2 separate regions of the Homo sapiens genome follow, and region 1 is linked to region 2. The links are contacts of gene promoters, found by promoter capture Hi-C in human tissues and cell types (Jung and others, 2019). All regions are on one chromosome and are shown on one strand. Each heading gives the region's core, a stretch centred on a gene start or on the middle of the fragment in contact. The rest is flanking DNA. Distances are from core to core; before and after follow the strand shown. Region 1 overlaps KCNG3 (potassium voltage-gated channel modifier subfamily G member 3). Region 2 holds the start of KCNG3 (potassium voltage-gated channel modifier subfamily G member 3).

Region 1 (6,711 bases), core at 3,769-6,268, 49 kb before region 2:
AAAAGTCTGGAAATCAAGCTTCTGGGACCTAACCTGACACTAGAGTGACCATGGCTAAATTACAACCCACTGGGAGCAGAGTTCCCTGGTTGCTAATATTTGGATCGGACAAAAGGCATACAATTGGGCCAAAATAGACCAGAAGGTTTCCACAACCCCTAGTTCCAACTTCCTATGACCCTATAAAATGATTAGACTATGTCTGATTGAATTGTATATTACACACCATAAGGGAATGCACATTTATGAAGGGTCAGAGGACTCGAAATATTCTATGACACTATGCATTAAGTTTGGAGTTACACAGCTGAATAGTAATACAGAGCTAGGAGCTTTCAATGTTTTATTTTTCATTTCTATGGAAAAGAGGTGAAGTGGACAGAAGGGATGTCTGAAATTCTATCCTGAGGCTTTAATATTTCAAATATTGTTTTGCATCTTTTTGTCTGTTTTCTTTAAAAAAAAAAAAAAAAAAGGAAAATAAACTGCTATTAGCAAATACCAAGCCAACAGGGAAAATTCTCCCAACACCAACATCCAAATTAACCCCATCTCCACCTCTTCCAGATCACAGGACATCTGGACAAAGGTTTAAAAAGACAAATAATTTTGACTTATTGACAGCCATTGTGGAAATAACTTTTCAGAAAGTATGAACTTACAAATGGGTACTTATAGGTAATGACCAAACCCAAGAACAAATGCAACTGTTTCAATTAGCAACAAGGACAATACAGTAATGAAAGCCTTGAATTGTTAGTTTGTTCACTTTCAAATATATTCCCTAATTTTGTGTTTGTAATCCTAAAACTCCCATTTTAGAGAATACAAAACAAGTTACATATTAGATCAAGTCATGTAAATTCAGGTGTGGTAAAATCAGATTAAAGATTAGGAGATTAGGGCTTTTTTCCTCTTTGGGTATTTTAATTTAGGATAATGTCTGACTTACTGGTACCAATACAGATATTAATGAAAACATTTCTGCCATGAAAAGACTGAGTTATAAGAGATGTCTGTAAGTATAGCTAAGAAAGAAGTGATACTTAATGGTTTTTTAAAAAAGCAGCAACAGGCCAGGCACAGTGTCTCATGCCCATAATCCCAGAGCTTTGAGAGGCTGAGGTGGGAGGACTGCTTGAGGCCAGGAGTTTGAGGCAAGCCTGGGCAACACAGTGAGACCCCTATCTCTACAAAAAAATAAAAATTAAAAAATTAACCAGCATGGTGATGCACACCTATAGTCCTAGCAACTTGGGAGGCTGGGGTGGGAGGACTGCTTGAGCCCAGGAGTTCAAAACTGCAGTGAGCTATGATCACACCACTGCACTCCAGCCTAGGCAACCAAGCAAAACTCTATCTCTAGAAAAAAATAAATAGATAAATAATGATAAAAGTAGCAACGCTCAGGGAACGTTACAATAAAATGCTGTTCCTAAAAAAACACAACATCCATGAAGACAAAACCCTAATACATATTTTTTCATTTATGAATGAACTACTCTATCACGTCTCATCGTCTCCTTATAAATGGGTAGCTTAACTGCCACTAGTATTTACCCAACATGCTTCTTTATGAAAATCGGTCCTATGGAAAGTCTGGAATCACCAACAAGAGATTTCACACTTGTTACCTAAGGGTAGCATGAAGTCTGTGTGTATATTTGCACATGTACATTATATATATATATACACACACACATATCCCTATATATAAAATATATACACATATATATACCTATATGTATGTATAAAATATATATATATAGGTGTGTGTGTATATATATACCTATAGGTATATGCTTCTCCTCGTCTCTTCACACAGAAGTTTCTCCCCTCAAATCAGTCAACTGTTTGTGCCCAAGTCTGTAACAGACACTGTCGGGGATACAAAGGTGTATGCATGAGAGAGGATCCCAGCTCTCAAGACAGTTATAATTTACTTGGGAAGATAGGACATATTCACATAAAGCGGTCCCAGTACCAGTAAAATTGATGGTTATCATATTTTTATTAGTAATATGGAGGTGCTATCATCTGCACATTGTTTGCATGAACCACAAAGCTTTAATCCAAATAGTTAAGAAAAAATAAATCCATGCCATTTATTTCAATTATATTAGAATACAATAAATATACAATAAATAACTGAATTTCTTTTGGGTATGTAAGAAGTAGCATACTAGCAGTAATAGGGAAAATAGGGCAAGATATTTAATGGCCAAACTATTACATAAGCTTAGGAAAGGAAATTAAGGGAAAGAAAACAGTTTTGCTATTATTACCTCAGCATGACAATGACAAAGAAGTGTGATTTTTCCAGGCTTTTCTCAGAACCCAGAGATGTGTGAAGATTAACCTGCTGGGCTAGGTTTCTGGAGATCCAGGTGTTAGCCCTGACTCCTTCACAATTATATTCTCTCCTGCCCTGATTTTCTACCTGTAATAGTTGAGGTTTGAACTAGATGATGGCTAAAATTCCTTTAATGAACACTTCTGGTAACCCTTTATTTGATAAATATATCCAGGTCCTCCATCACCCACCACTTCCCAATCCCTGTCTTCTCTACCTCTGACAAAATTACTGTGTACAACATTCAATTTTTTATGAATCTGTCACTAATTATTTGTGTTTATATATACACTAACTTCTTTATGGTAACTGGTTGAAAAAGCAAAATTCTAATTTCTGTTGCTAAAATTTAGTTACTAAACAATCATCACTTTTACATTATCTAGTCCTAATAATCTAGCCAGATTAACATGGCATATTAGTCAGTATTCTTACAAGAAGAGTTTTGGTGTAGCTGTGATTCACAATAGTTAAAGATCAGATCAAATCATTATGTATCCATCGCTTTTACTGGCTTAAAATTGACTTAGCTACACAGCAACTAAGAGTACAGTAATATTTAATTTCTCCCTTTTATGATAATCCAGTGACAACACGTAAGTATGACTTTGCTACTAAAAGGCTATATAAATATCCTTTCATCTGATAAGTCTTATTAAACCTCTAGTGTTTGGGGGAGGAGGTTAAGAGAAGAAGAGGTTGTAATATTGAGTCATCTCAAATTATTCCTATTATAATTTTTATGTTGGAAGTATTCTTGTTTGGACATCTAAATATTAGGACAGTTATCACCTAGGAACAGCAATGAATTCAAATATTATCCAGTAAGATGCTAAACAACACAAGCTCTCGTCAATTCTTAAATACCTTTTGAGTCATTACAGTAAAGAGATAAATCCAAAATGGAAAAGGGAGAACATACTCAAGCTTCCATGAAGCGGCACGATAAGGTGAATAATTGGCACAAAAATAAAGCAAAGAATTGAGAAGTATGCTGGAAAAGTCTTTCAAATACTATTCTTGCTTGTATCTAGCTCCATTATACAGTTTAAATTTTGGCCAAATTTTTAAAGTATTTGTTAAACAGTTCCCGCATGTGACATATGTTTCCAGGATACTTCTGACATTGATATGAGAAATTATAAAACATTTAGAAATGAAAATGTTACTCTCAAACAAAAAACACTATAAGTTCCAAGCTTCTTCTGAATTCATAAGATGGAAAAACATTTGGAAAATAGTACCTTTCTGTTTTAAAATGTTCAAATAATGTATTTTTTAAAAATGTGTAATCATTCAAGGAAACGGGAAAACAAGTCTAAATAAAACCGGGTCCTAAAGTTTACTCTAGGAGTCATTATTCTTCCTTTGCAGTCTCAATTCTATTTACTCCATAACAAGTAAACTGTTTTATCCCTTCGGCTGGGAAGGATAATTTTTACCCTACCAAGATGATGACAATGCCACTGCAGTGCTCACCCAGCAAGAAACACATAAATATGAAGCAGCATCAAAGTCTTTCTATGAAGTGTATGCAAGAATTGATTTGCAATGCATTAATTCAGGAATTCAGTGGAGAGGCTCCTACTATACCTAGCAGATCTAAACTTGAGCTCATGATAACACTGCACAAAGCTATGGTAGATAAAAGTGATAGGTAATGCCAATAGAACAATTCCACTGACAACACAAACTCCTCCAAGAATTCTTCCAGGCACTGTGATAGGATACATATCTCCATAGCCAACTGTAGTCATAGAGATAATCACCCACCAGCAGGCAGCAGGAATGCTGGTAAAGTCCTTGTTGGATGTTTCCAGGTCCAGCCCATGTTCAAGAAGCTGAGAAAGTGCACTAAAGATTGCCATGGCAACACAAATGAAGACAAGTAACATAACCATCTCTCGGTAGCAACGTTTGAGAGTCAAACCGAGTGTCTGAAGACCAATGAAGTGACGGGCAAGCTTAATCACCCAAAAAATCCTCATCATTCTAAGTACCCTCAAGGTGACTCCAGCCCTCTGGAGTTGAGAGTTCTCGCCTGTAAACACTGTCATCAACACAGAGATGTAATACGGCGTGATTGCCAGTAAATCAATGATGTTCAGGGGTCTCTTGACAAACTCACACTTGTTTTTGGAGACAATGAACCTCACGATGCACTCGGCAGTGAACCAACCTATGCAGATAGCTTCAATTATCCTGTCAAGAGAACAAAAGAAGAATTGATCATTTTATTTTTAAGCATTTTAATAGCTCTTAGATTTCTTCAGATAGTACTACACTGACATACTAATTCAGTTACTTTTCCAGAAAACATAAAGAACAGACAACATTAGCAACATCATCAGACCACCAGGATGCACGCAACAGAACAACAAATCAATTCAGATGAAAATTGAGACCAGGTGCAGTGGCTCATGCATGTAATCCCAGGTCTTTGGAAGGCTGAGGTGGGTGAATCGCTTGAGCCCAGGAGTTCGAGACCAACCTGGGCACCACAGCAAAACCCCGTCTCCACAAAAAAAAAATACAAAAATCAGCTGGGCTTGGTGACACACACCTGTAGTACCACCTACCTGGGAGGCTAAGGTGGGAGGATCACCTGAGCCTGGGAAGGTCAAGGCCAGAGTGAGCCATGACTGTGCCACTGCACTCCAGCCAGGATGACAGAAAGAGACCCTGTCTCAAAAATTAAAAAAAAAAAAAAAAAAAATTGAACTTGATAAAGTTCTTACTTCTATGCTACAATACTATTAAATTTTGTTTTTTACTTGTCACTAATACTTTTAAAAAATATCTCTCTTATTTGGTAGTTTGAAATTAACTTATCTTCAGTTGGCCACAACATGAAATTTAACTTACTCTTGCAGGACAGTGGTTCTCAGCTGTGATACGAGTTCTGAGGTGGATTGGAAGGGCATTATTCCTATAGAATGTGGACCTATCTAAGTTTTTTGATGGGCTATTTCTTGGTAACTTACAGTCAATGCAAGATCATTTCCTAAAACGTGAATCGTCCTTCCTTCCCAATAGGCTTGTATGGGAGATACTGGCACCGAGCAAGTTTATGGGGAACTGGGTGAGTGCCCTCACCAGAAACTCACCAGGTCACAACTATCCTAAAAAGGTCCCAGCAGAAACGAGGCCGAGGACTCCCACATTGGAGCAAAATGGCCGCTAGGATTTTCCCAAAGACCACAAATACTTTGTATTCCATCATCATTTTTACACAGCACATATTTTTAAAAGACCACATTTTACCTAGAGCAATATTTACCACCCTTTCTGCATTACTGCATGCACTGAAAATAATCGCATTTATACAGCACACTGCAGTCAAGGGATAGGATTCCTTTTTTTTTTTGAGATGAAGTTTCACGCTATCGCCCAGGCTGGAGTGCAGTGGCACGATCTCAGCTCACTGCAACCTCTGCCTCCCGGGTTTAAGCAATTCTCCTGCCTCAGCCTCTCCAGTAGCTGGGACTACAGGCGTCTGCCACCATGCGTGACTAATTTTTGTATTTTTAGTAGAGATGGAGTTTCACCATTTTGGCCAGGCTGGTCTCGAACTCCTTACGTCAGTTGTTCTGCCCACCTCAGCCTCCCGAAGTGTCGGGATTACAGCCATGAGCCACCACACCCAGCCAACGGGTAGGATTCTTGAAGAAGCCTGCATCCTGGGAGCTCTAGGCCCCCAGCCCTCAGCCCATAAACCCCAAAGCTGAGAAAATCAAATTTCAACACCTCTGGCCCTGTGAGCTGTAATTTGAAGGTAATTTTAAATTTAATTAACATTTTTTATTTTTTTTTAATTGAGATGGAGTGTCGTTCTGTCACCCAGGCTGGAGTGCAGTGGCACAATCTCGGCTCACTGCAACCTCTGCCGCCTGGGTTCAAGCAATTCTCGTGCCTCACCCTCCCAAGTAGCTGGGACTACAGGCGCGCGCGATCACGCCTGGCTAATTTTTTTATATTTTGAGTAGAGACGGGGTTTCACCATGTTGGCCAGGCTGGTCTCAGACTTCTGACCTCAAGTGATCCGCCCACCTCGACCTCCCAAAGTGCTGGGATTACAGGCATGAGCCACCATGCCCAGCCCAAAATTTTTAACATTCGAAATTAAAATTTATAATTATTATACCATCACTTGTTTTTCTCCACATAATTCTTTCTCACCACTAACTTAAACCCAAACATCAGAAGTACAATGGAGAGAGAAGAAACTGGAGTAAGTGGGAGGAGAGTAGGTGGGGCAACATTTTGAAAAGAATTACTCAAAGTGCATTCCACAGAACACAAGTGGTACTTGATGTTACTCATAAAAATGAATAAATACAATTAACCATGTTTCCCTA
Region 2 (6,334 bases), core at 2,282-4,781:
ACTCCCTGCTAGTTTGGGCAGTGCACAACCTCTGCAACCTTCCAACCATGGTTTGTTTCCATCCTCCACCACCCTGAAGGCCTTCTCTGAACAACGGAACTCTCAGAGATCAATTGTGCCTCTGATTCCTACACCACCAACTTGACACCAACTTTTCTTTACAACAGAAAGTTACAATATTTGGAACACCAGCAGTGCCTTGAACATAACAGATATTCAAAAGATGTTTGCAAACTATGATGGAGTAAGTCAAGATCGGCAGGTTGTCATCAAACTGTAAAGAGCCTTGAAGGCCAAGAAAGAAGTTTTGGCTTTATTTGGCAGATGCAAAATATGGTCAAATAATGAGAATGATGTTTTAGAAAGACTAATTTCAGCAACCACAAGCAAGCAGGGTTTTAACGACTATACTTAAAGTGACAGGTTAAGGGCCCTCTCTGTTGAAGGGCAGAGGGGAGCTTCCTCTGTAATGAGCAGCATCCTCATTCGGCCATCCTGCAGTTTATCTGTTTGGGATTGCAGATATTGGTTTTCATATACCTACACTCAGACAGTGAAGCTAAAACTGGGCCATTAAGCTAAGAAAAACATGCTTTTGCCTGAAATATCTAAGTATCTAGGAAACAGCTCTGACTTGAATAATTATACACATACATAAAATACATATACACAAATAAGCATTACTTTTCTCCCTTCACTTCTTTTGCAGTCTCCCTCTTTTCCATCTCTGTCTTCCCTTTTTTGTTTCTTGTGTTTCTCTCCCTAAAATTACTATGCATTTCTCTCATTTCTTTACAAATGCTTTACATTAATGATCTCCATATGGCCCTTTCCCTCTCCCAAAACACCCTCCCTCCCCCTAAGATTATATTTGAGGTATTTTACTGGTTTTGCTCATATACTGGTTCAGTCAACTCCCTCATTATCTGCACTAATAATAATTCAATTCTCCTGTTTCCTTTGCTAATGTAGCTCAAACCTTCACTAACCTTAGAATTCTACAGTTACTGGAGAATCAAAATTCCAAGTCCATTTTCCTAAAGCCCTCCTTAAAAAAAAAAGGCATTTATGTATTTAGGTAAATAAATTAATTTCATTGTATTGTTGGAGAACCAAATAAGTAACTCTTATCTGTAAATTCAAAACTGTTAGAACCTAATTCACTAAACAAAATGAGTTTCCTAATGAATTTCCTTTCAAAGCATGTATCTTCGATTTCAAGCCAAGAAGAAATAATAGACTCCGTGGCACTAGACAATTTTATTTACTTCTTAGATTTATATAAAAATCCTTACTCCCTACAGGAAGAATATTATGTAGAAGTAATCCACTGCAATAGCAAGGCCGCCGTTCCGAACATGTACATGCCTATCAGTAAAACATGACAGGGCACAACCTTAAATTTAAAAAATGAATGGAAGGAGGATCTTAAGACAGTGTCAAACAGATAAACTATAATATGCAGTTTGGGTTTTGTGCCCCAAAAGGCTGTCTTCTTTGAAAGTCCATCCTTAGTCTGCTTATTCCTCCCACTGAATATGCTCACTTGTACTAAAAACAGGAAAGTGCTATCACCACTTCAAGGTAAGACAGTCTAAGAAAAGACTGCAATATTTTCCCATTCATCCTAGTAAAGTAGAAAAAAAAATTTACCCAAATACTGTTTTCTGGATTTAGGACAGTTTAGATTTTTCTTTGTTCTCAAGGTAATGGTTTTTTCCCTTCCCATATCATAGACCCTCTGAAAGTCGCAGTGTGAATCTTTGCTACCAAACGGTGGACAAGAGGTTTGCTAACTCCATACTTTGTAGGAAAAGGGGGAAGAAAAGGGCACAGACATCCATTATTTAGAGTCTATCGATAAATTAACCTGCTTTATAATATAACGATTCCATTACAGCACATAGTATGCCGGGGGCAGAGTGTATAGAATGTGTGGAGAGTGCACATTTCACCATAACAAGAATCCATCTTTCCAAACACTACCAAAAATTGGCAAATAATTCAAACTGCGCTTAGTTCAAGGCTTAATTGTTGAACCCTAACAATAAAAGTTCAGAAAAATGTAATTAGCAGGTTGCTCTCTGCGCAAAAGTAAACTACAAAGAGGGGACATTTGTCTATCTCTACACGCCCCTCCCCATGCCTGAGGATTTCGCCCTCAAGAGGTGCGTCTAGTGTAAGGGCCAGACCCCGCTGGTGCCCCGGACAACGGGGTAGGAGTGGGGACCGACCGGTCCCGTAGTTGGCCGCGCCTGGGCCTCGCTGGGCGCGCACCCCGCTGGCTCGGTCGCCCGGAGGCGGACAGGACGGAGACGGGACGTATGGACGGGACGGACAGACGCGACAGGACGGACGGGACGGGTAGAGAAGCAGTGCGTCCTACCCGGAGGGCTCCCTCCCAGGGCCGGCGGAGTACCTGCTCCGGTCATCCAGGCTGCGGTTGTCGGCGGCTGCGTTGCGCCAGTCGGGCAACGTGCTGGCGCACAGCACCACCATGGACACGATCACGAACACCACCGACACGCTAGCCAGGATCTGCGCGGCCAGCGACGACGTGGGCTCCTCGAAGGTCCGCCGCATGCGCTCCAGCCAGCGCCTGGAGGGAGCCGCCTCGGCCCCGCCGGGGCGCGCCTCGTCGCGGCCCAGCACGCCCGGCTCGTCGGCCGAGTAGAAGGTGTAGGTGTCGGACATGCGGTCGTCGAGGCGGCGCTGGCAGCAGTACTCGAGGTGCGCGCCCTCCAGGCCCCAGTAGATCATCTCGTTGTAGAAGGAGAGCTCGCACATCCGCGGCGCGAAGCGCAGCTTGCCGTGGCCGCGCACGTAGAGCAGGATGAAGCCGAAGGCCTCCGAGTGCCGGTCGAAGAAGTACTCGTTGCGCTCGCGGTCGTAGTCGTCGCACACCTCGAGCACGTCGCGCTCGGAGCGGCAGCCGTGCAGCCGGCTCACGCGGCGCAGCGGGAAGTCCTTCAGCAGCTCCCGGGACAGCGAATACCGGGCGCCGCCCACGTTCAGCACCACCGAGGCCGCCCCGCTGCGCCCGAAGGTCATGGCTGGCCGCCCGGGGGACTTTCGGCCCGAGGGCCCCGCTGCAGCCCCCCACCCCAAGCCGCCACGCGGGGCCTGCCTGCCCGTGGCTGACGGGGGAGCGCGCCGTCGGGGCCCGCGCTCCCTCGGGGCTCCGCTCCTGCCCTCCGCTGGCCCGGGGGTCCCTGGGCTCGAGTATCTCCGGCGCTGCTAGTAGCGCGCCCTCCGCCCGGCGGTACCTGCGGGTGGCCGGGGAGTCCTCGCCGGCGCCAGCGCTGAGCCCCACCGGCTGGGAACGCGGCTGTGTCCGCGCCGCCGACCCTCGCGCCCGAGGGCTGCGCACACCGAGGCCGCGGTGCCCTCTCCCAAGCCGCGGGGCCGACCCCCTGAGGGCTGCGGGCGCCGAATGGAGCCGCCGGGGCGGAATAGCTCCCCGTCTCCGGCGCTCCCTGCGGCCGCGAATCCGGCGGCCGCCCCGCCGCCGTCCAGAGGCGAGAGGCAAAGTGAGCGGGTTCGGAGGCGGCGAAGAGCCGGCTCGCGGCGGCGGGGGCGGGGCCTCTGTGCAGTCCTCCTCCTCGCCCGCCGGCTCCGCGCGCGCCGCTCACCTCCCTCCGCGCCGCCCTCCGCTTCCCGCCCGCGCCCGCACCTCCCCGGCTTGCTCGGGCTGGGATTCCCGGGCGCCCCGCCCTGGACCTCGGGCTCCCCGCCTCGTGACGCCGTCCTCCCCCTCCGCTCCGGCCCGTAGTGGCGGGGAGGGGTCCGCAGGGCGGGGGAGCGGGGAGCCCAGCGCCGGGATGCCTGCTCCCGCGTCCTGCCCTGGGCCATCGGGATGAATTGGGCAGTCCCCAGGGCCCCTTTTAACAGCCCTGGTTCAAAGCCCAGTGTGGACTCGGGTGCGGGGACAGACGGCGTTTGGAGAGCTTTTTCCAGAAACTGTCCGGAGCCCAGCTCGGGTTCTGACATCGCCCCTAAGGATTTCTCAGGGAAGGCATCCCAGCCACGGCTTTTCCTGCCGACTTTGCTCTTCCTACCGCCGCGCGGGGCGACCCACGTACCGCGTGCTCAGAGGGCGGCTACACGCCCCATCCCCCAGCCTCGGTGCCGCCTGCCAGCCCGCGGAGGGAAGCGGTCCCCGACCCGGCCCCGGCCCCCACGTTCTGGGGCGCGAGTCCTGAGAAGGCGCCTAACGTGTAGCGCGCCTGGACCCTCTCGAGATGCTGCCCTTAGAGTGGGATGAAAGTCTGGGGAGGAACGCCTTGTCACCGGCAAAAACAGCCTTTCTCTTGGTCTTCGTCTGCATCCTCCTTTTCAAAATATCTTGATTTCCCCCGCGCACCCCTGACCCGGCTGCAGCACCGGCCCTCCGAGCGGGAAGAGCCCCGTGAAGGCTCCGCAGAGCGATCTACCCCGCGCTCTTGTCCGTGCCCAGAAAGCGGGTTCCACTTGGCAGGGATTATTTTAAACTGCTACCAGCAATTCATTCACCTGACACCCGACACCGGCAGCCCAGCCCGCCGGAGGCGAGACAGGTGAGTTGTAAGGCGAACCGTGTTAGATGCAAAACAAATACTAGAAGAAAAAAATAAGGGTGGGGTAGGGTGAGATGCGGTCATCTGACCACAGGGTAACCTGGCTGGTTAAAGGGAAGAGTTTTTCATTGCCCTCTACTTTTCGTAATTTTGTAGGATTGTCCGGTGCCCGCTAGAGGTCGCCAAACGGAGTCCTTTTGCGCTGGTTCTTAAGTGGATTCCTAGTGAAAAGGCAGACAACTGAAAATGTGAGTGCTGTCTTTTAAGTAAAATCACTCTCGGTGGCTTCTTAAAGAATGAAAATCTCTGTGAGTTGTTTATCCCCAGACTTGGATAATTTATCTTAAGAGCACTAAATGTGATTAAAAGCTCAAAAACAGGAGTTATTTGCTACTTTAGTATCTACTAAATAGTTTGCTATTCAGTATCTATTTTGCTATTTAGTGTCTACTGGGTAGATACTGCTACTTTGCTGTTTAGTATCTACTAAGTAGATATTAAACAAGAAAAATATCTGTAAGAAAGTGAGTTTCAAGACAGAATTGGAGGTGCTGATGGCCATGAGTTGGCACAGAGAAAGGGCAAAACATTCCTAGTAGCAAAATCTCGAATGTGGAGGTTTAAAGTCTGTGAAGAAGTATAATGCACTTGCCCACTGAAACAATGGGGATCTCAACTGCAGCATTTAAATTGGATCCCATAAGCAATGGAATCCCTGGAGGTTTCCATAGCAGAAATGGCTTGATGAAAGCTTTATTTCAGGAAGATGCCTTTGCACTTTGGGTCATTCTAAGGAGAAGGTCATTTCGCAACCCAGGAATGGGATCCCCAACCCCGTGTCTGTGAAGATGAAGAAGGGTCTGTTCTGAGAAACGCTGAGACCAAGAACTTTGCAGGTCTTGAAGATGGATTTGTTGTAGGACGTGAGGATGGGGAAAAGTTTGCAGATGTGAGCCAGAGATGAGCCTGGCTTGATACCAAGAGCCAATTCATCAGGAAGCCGTTAAAAAATACTTTCTAGAAGCATCACAAGCAATAGAAGACAGAACTATAGTGCCGATTGTTTGCTCTAACATTATTGTAGGGTTTATTTCCTGTGTTCTCTCCGTAGAATCCTTCTACTGTCTGTTGATTGAACCAGTTGAAGAAATATCTCATTTTAAATTACATTTGAGCTTAGAAAACAAATTAATTTGATGACAATACAATGTGTGCCTCCTAGGTATATTTTCATGCGATTTCTTAGAGAGATAGGCTTAAATCATTTCATTTGTTTCAAGAGTAATATTTTTATTTGATTTTAATATCATCAACCACTGCTGCAGCAGCAATACCCAAATCGTTTTCTTAAACAAAGAAAACAGTGATGCAGAAATGATAGGCTTGTCTCAATATAATCTGGTTTAGAGAGCATTCTTAAAGCCAATTCTATTCTTTGTACTTTGAGAAGATAATGTTGAGAAGTATTACATCCAGATTCTCTCCTAGACTCGGGATGGTATTTAGGGTCTTCATATCTAAATCTTTAGAATGCATTACAATTTAAAGGTAGAATTTTAGAGTTTGAAAGAACCTAGAGGTTTTCTAGTTTCAGAACCTAGGAAAAAAAAAAAAAAAAAAAAGCAAATTACTCCCATTTTTTCCTCCCCTCCGAAGTTACAAAGCTTCAGAGATGTGGCTGTAACTAGCCCGAGCATTCCCAGCAGCAGCATCCTGGCAGAGGCTAGAATCAGGTTTTCTCATGTCAAACTCTGCTCACTCTGTTTCCAGGGCCTGGA

The links. Contacts are between HindIII fragments. The study calls those that stand out against the background at their distance.
Region 1: a contact is called between a fragment that was not itself captured here and the fragment with the promoter of KCNG3 in region 2, in 4 of the 25 tissues and cell types used here (H1 embryonic stem cells, lymphoblastoid cells, pancreas and 1 more).

Annotation. Positions count from the first base shown.
Region 1 is chr2:42,440,025-42,446,735 of GRCh38, forward strand. KCNG3 (potassium voltage-gated channel modifier subfamily G member 3) reads right to left here. Exons shown (of 2, transcript NM_133329.6): 2 at 1,993-4,555. The coding sequence ends at 3,910. LOC124900542 (small nucleolar RNA SNORD75) reads left to right here and starts at 353; the gene lies at 353-412. The HindIII fragment of the contact is 7,955 bases long and covers 1,042-6,711 here.
Region 2 is chr2:42,490,451-42,496,784 of GRCh38, forward strand. It overlaps KCNG3 (potassium voltage-gated channel modifier subfamily G member 3), which reads right to left and starts at 3,532. Exons shown (of 2, transcript NM_133329.6): 1 at 2,387-3,532. The coding sequence starts at 3,051. It also overlaps a transcript of MTA3 not described here. RefSeq lists enhancers at 1,719-2,476, 2,477-3,234, 4,559-4,853 and silencers at 3,315-3,404, 3,585-3,634, 3,725-3,804. The HindIII fragment of the contact is 23,685 bases long and covers 1-5,763 here.